2 separate regions of the Homo sapiens genome follow, and region 1 is linked to region 2. Evidence: promoter capture Hi-C in 16 types of primary human blood cells and fetal thymus (Javierre and others, 2016). All regions are on one chromosome and are shown on one strand. The core of a region is centred on a gene start or on the middle of the fragment in contact, and the rest is flanking DNA. Distances in the headings are between cores, read along the strand shown. Region 1 overlaps HPS5 (HPS5 biogenesis of lysosomal organelles complex 2 subunit 2). Region 2 holds the start of LDHC (lactate dehydrogenase C).

The links. The method cuts DNA at HindIII sites, captures the fragments that hold promoters and counts their contacts. A CHiCAGO score of 5 or more calls a contact.
Region 1: a contact is called between a fragment that was not itself captured here and the fragment with the promoter of LDHC in region 2, in 2 of 17 cell types (total CD4 T cells and activated CD4 T cells). The highest score is 5.8, in total CD4 T cells.

Annotation. Positions count from the first base shown.
Region 1 is chr11:18,288,127-18,290,935 of GRCh38, forward strand. The region is part of intron 16 of HPS5 (HPS5 biogenesis of lysosomal organelles complex 2 subunit 2); the gene reads right to left. Among named protein-coding and RNA genes, the nearest start is that of SAA1, 23 kb to the left of the region's middle. The HindIII fragment of the contact is 4,236 bases long and covers 1-2,809 here.
Region 2 is chr11:18,410,989-18,413,688 of GRCh38, forward strand. LDHC (lactate dehydrogenase C) reads left to right here and starts at 1,330. Exons shown (of 8, transcript NM_017448.5): 1 at 1,330-1,420; 2 at 1,721-1,855. The coding sequence starts at 1,730. The HindIII fragment of the contact is 7,298 bases long and covers 1-2,700 here.

The DNA of each region.
Region 1 (2,809 bases), core at 1-2,500, 120 kb before region 2:
ATGTGCAAGGCCCAATATTAAGCATTACAAGAGAAACAAATAAAAGTACAAGAGATGTAATTTCTACTTTTAAGAACCTTAAAATCTAATTGGGAGGCAAAGCATATTAAAAGTTTTAAATAAGACGAAGGAACATATAATTAATACATCAGTGACTATTACTCTTAAAATAATGAGTATCTAGGCCTATATATAGCAACTGTCCATATAAGCACACATCAAAAACCAATATACATAGCTATCATCAATGCCAAGTTGCTCAGTTTTTTCTAGAACTAGTATTCCTACTCCATCTTTTAGAATTAAATTCAATGAAATTAATTTTAAAATATTTGACCTTTTTTTAAAGTTACCAGTATAGCAAATACTCATTCTCTGAAGAACAGAAGATTTGACTTTTTGGAATAGCCAAAAGTCACTTAAAATCAAGTCTGGTGAAAGGAGTGATGATCTAAAACTATTTGTGGTTTAAAAAAAAAAAGTATGAATCTAAAGTAAAGTGGGTTTTTTTCCAAGTAGTTTTCTTTTTTAGTTTTTTAGAAACAGGGTCTCATTCTGTTGCCCAGGCTGGAGTGCAGTGGTGATCACTGCAACCTTGAACTCCTGGCTGTGTGTGTGTGTGTGTGTGTGTGCAGCGACGGGGTCTTCCTACGTTGCCTAGCTGCAGTGCCTGTGTGCACACATGCGCACATGCGTGTGTGGAGAGACAGGGTCTTGCTACGTTGCCTAGCTGCAATACCTGGGTGTGTGCATGTGTGTGTGTGTAGAGACAAGGTCTTGAAACGTTGTCTAGGCTGGCATGTGTGTGTGTGTTTATATGTATGTGTGTGTAGACAGGGTCTTGCTACATTGCATAGGCTGGTGTGTGTGTTTTTGTGTGTGTAGAGACGGGGTCTTGCTACGTTGCCTAAGCTGGGCAAGTATTTTTCAACTGCCTCTGAAGACAAATCCCAAATAACAGTTCCAAAAGCTGTTTCCCATAATTATCACATCATTAGAAGGGTGAGGCCTACTCACCAGGTTCTAAGAGCCAACATTCATTTTCTGATACATGCTTTTTTAAAAAAGTCATTTTTTCCCCAGTCTCATTGTTTCCCATTTGACTGTGTCAGGCAATAAGTACTTTAAAGGAATTCAGAGGAGGAGGCCATTCAGAGGTTTGGGGAAGCCTGATGACTGCGCGGGAGCTAAACCAGACATATCCACCTAAATTCAAGTAAGCAGCCATATCACTCAAATTGCCCACCATGCTTCCTCTAGCCAGCACTGGTAGTAACAACTATCACTCTGGCTGATGGAGACTCTTTTCTGCTCTTCTGTGACTGGGTATGATCACATAATAGAGACAGATACAGTAAATTTCCAATGAGTAATAATGTCACACATTTGAACTTACCTGAGGAGAAATAGCTTGTTTCTTATTTCACACAAAAGACAATCTACCTCAACTCAGAAAAAAAAAAATTATTATGCTTTTAACTGCTATATTTGAATTAAAGCAGATCTGTAACTATAGATCCATGTTTCTAGAAAGCTAAAATATCTTTAAGTAAGATGACATAAAAATGTATCTCTATTCACTTTTGGTAATGAATGAAAAGTTGCTTAAAGTCTAAAGTATTAGAAATATGGCATCTGTTATTCAAGTAGGATTTGGAATTAAGAAAATTCACTTCTTCAAAAACATGGGACTATGGCTGCAGAAAGGGCAATGCATATAGTTTTTAGGGTATGATAGCTGGTTTCTATTATATGTCAGGATGACATATGCGACCTTCCGCCAAGGTAGATACTGCGGGCTATGCACCAAAGTCTCTGAGGCAGACATGTAAGCGAGCTCTTCACCTATATTCATTCTTTTCCTCCTGGACAGGTTACATTTCCCAGTTTCCTTTGCAGTTAGTTGTGGCTATATGACAGAATTCTCATCAATGGAAATGTACACAGAAGAGAGGTAAGCCACTACCAGGCCAGGCCTATAAGACAGCACTTTCTACATGCTTTCCCCAGACATAGCAACCCAAACATGACCACATCCCTTAAGGGAAGATGGAGCTGAAAATAATGGAAGGAACTTGGAATGCTAGAATGCTGAATTACCACCTGGGAGACAGCTACCCACTGACCTGGAATACCTGTCCTGGACTGTTACATGAGCAAGAAATACACTTCTATTTATGTATGAGTTACTTCATTATCAGATATTTATTACAGCAGTTTAGCTACCTAAGATCTCTCTCTGCCTCAGACTGCTTATCTATAAAATGGAATAACACCATCTACTCCAAACATTATTGTAAGGATGAAATGAGACAATGCTGAAAAGTGTTTACCATAATATCTGCCACACAATAAGTACCCCATATAGTATTTCTGTATTAGTAAGTTACATGAGAGATTTTCTTCTTTTAATACATCTGCATTTATAAACATTTTACTTTAACCTCAACTTCCCCAGCACTGCTCTACCATTTTCTGAATGTCATTATGAGAGAAATAAAACTAATTTCTAGGGCCAGGCATGGTGGCTCACACCTATAATCCCAGCATTTTGGGAGGCCAAGGTGGGAAGACTGCTTTGAGGTCAGGATTTCAAGACCAACCTGGGCAACACAGTAAGACCCCATCTCTATAAAAAAATGAAGAAATCAGAGGGTACAGTGGCACATGCCTGTAATCCCACGACTCAGAAAACTGAGGCAGGAGGATCGCTTGAACCCAAGGGATCAAGGCTACAGTGAGCCATGATCACACCACTGCATTCCAGCCTGGGCACAGAGTGAGACCCTGTCTCTAAAAATAAAAAATA
Region 2 (2,700 bases), core at 80-2,579:
TAAAAGTGGGTTACTCTACCTGTAATGGAAAGCCACGGAAGAGTTTAAAGCAGGGTTATTGCATAATCTGAACCATATTGAAAACAAATACTGACTGGGTGCGGTGGTTCACGCCTGTAATCCCAGCACTTTGGGAGGCCGAGGTGGGTGGATCACTTGAGGTCAAGAGTTCGAGACCAGCCTGGCCAGCAAGGTGAAATACAAAAAAATACAAAAAAATTTGCCCGGCGGCTGGGCACGGTGGCTCAGCACGGTGGCTCACGCCTGTAATCCCAACACTTTGGGAGGGCGGATCACTAGGTCAGGAGTTGGAGACCATTCTGACCAACATGGTGAAACCCCATCTCTACTAAAAATACAAAAATTAGCCGGGCGTGGTGGCGCACGCCTGTAGTCCCAGTTACTTGGGAGGCTGAGGCAGGAGAATTGCTTGAACCCAGGCGGCGGAGGTTGCAGTGAACTGAGATTGTGCCACTGCACTCCAGCCTGGGCGACAGAGTGAGACTCTGTCTCAAAAACAACAACAATAACAACACTACAGGCTATTATAAGAAAAATAAATTATATTTTGGATTTTGAAAAAGGTTCAAATGCAAATACTCTACAAAAGATGGAGTAGGTTGTGTCCCCTTCTGTGAGATATATATCTCTCTCACAAAAAAAAAAATATATATGTAAATTTTTTTTGAGATGGAGTTTCTCTCTTGTTGCCCAGTCTGGAGTGCAGTGGCGCGATCTTGGCTCACTGCAACCTCCGCCTCCTGGGTTCAAGCGATTCTCCTGCCTCAGCCTCCCAAGTAGCTGGGACTACAGGCATGCACCACCATGCCCGACTAATTTTATATTTTTAGTAGAGACGGGGTTTCGCCATGTTGGCCAGGCTGTTCTCAAACTCCTGACCTCAGGTGATCCACCTGCCTCGGACTCCCAAAGTGCTGGGATTACAGGTGTGAGCCACCGCGTCCGGCCATGAGTTATAAATATTAACAATTTCTTGCTGTAAATTGAAAGCATCCTTCGCGTCTTTGCGTTTCATTACCACCCTCTGTTCTCTCAAGAGAAATTCTAACTTTATTTCAGCACTCAGTCCTGAAGTTACAGAAGTTAATAATTTTTTAAAATCCTGCAAACAATGCATGGATATCCCCGTCTTGCACACTCTTTGGGCCAGTCTAGAATTCTTCCCATCAGCATTTCGGTGATCTGGACCGCCGCCACCCACACTGCGCTCCAGGGCAGAAAAGACGCCCCATGCCCGCGCCTGGGCCGGCGGGGGGCGGAGCTTGCGTGCTGACGCATAAGAGCCGAGCGGGGGAACGTGCGTGTCTCGAGTCGCACGGAGGGCAACCGTCGACGGGCTTAGCGCCTCAACTGTCGTTGGTGTATTTTTCTGGTGTCACTTCTGTGCCTTCCTTCAAAGGTGGTGCTTTGTCCCTGTGGGTCATCTGTACTGATTGCGCCAAGCAAAGCATTTGTGAGCGTGTGGTGCTGGGGTGAAAGTGGTGGCTGGGGGCAGGGAGAAATCCAAAAGCCCGCTGGTGCCCCAGCCCTCCCATTGCCTGGTAGACTGGGCCTTGCTTTACCCTCCCCGCATCCTTTGACCAGGAAATTCTTTCTTTGGCTTCCCCCCATCCCCGGCTCCAACATTCTGCAAACTGAAGAGGTAGTTTCTTAGATGTTCAGTGTGGTTAATCCAATGAAATTGCATTATCCCTATCAGGTTCTCCAAATGTCAACTGTCAAGGAGCAGCTAATTGAGAAGCTAATTGAGGATGATGAAAACTCCCAGTGTAAAATTACTATTGTTGGAACTGGTGCCGTAGGCATGGCTTGTGCTATTAGTATCTTACTGAAGGTGAGTGAGAAGCCCATCCTGTGGCTGAAAATCAAGTGAGCACTTCAGAGTGTTGTATATGTCGATGTATTCAGGGTTGCAAGGTTAATCCCTTGAAAGCAATTATGTATCCTTTGACCTTTCCTCCCTCCCTCCCTCCCTCCCTTCCTTCCTTCCTTCCTTCCTTTTTCTTTCTCTCTTTCTTTTCCTTTTTTTTTAAACTTCTTCTTTCTTTTCCTTTCTTTTTTTTTCTGACTTTCCTTTTCTTTTTCTTTTTTTGAGACAGGATTTGTCTGTTACCCAGGTTGGAGTGCAGTGGCGCGATCTTGGCCCACTGCAACCTCCACCTCCCGGGATCAAGCGATTCTCCTGCCTCAGCCTCTTGAATAACTGGGGCCACAGGCATGCACCACCAGGCCTGGCTAATTTTTTATATTTTTAGTAGAGATGGGGTTTCTCCATGTTGGCCAGGCTGGTTTCGAACTCCTGACCTCAAGTGATCCGCCTGCCTCGGCCTCCCAGAGTACTGGGATTACAGGCATGAGCCACCACACCTGGCTGCCAATAGGTATTGTTTTTAACCCTTGTGCCCTCCTCCCTCTCTGCTTTTGGAGTCCCCAGTGTTTATTGTTCTCTCTTTTTTTTTTTTTTTTTTTTTTGAGACGGAGTCTCGCTCTGTTGCCAGGCTGGAGTGCAGCGGCAGGATCTCGGCTCCCGGCAACCTTTGCCTCCCGGGTTCAAGCAGTTCTCCTGCCTCAGCCTCCTGAGTAGCTGGGACTACAGGCATGTGCCACCACGCCCAGCTAATTTTTATATTTTTAGTAGAGACGGGGTTTCATCATGTTGGCCAGGATGGCCTTGATTTC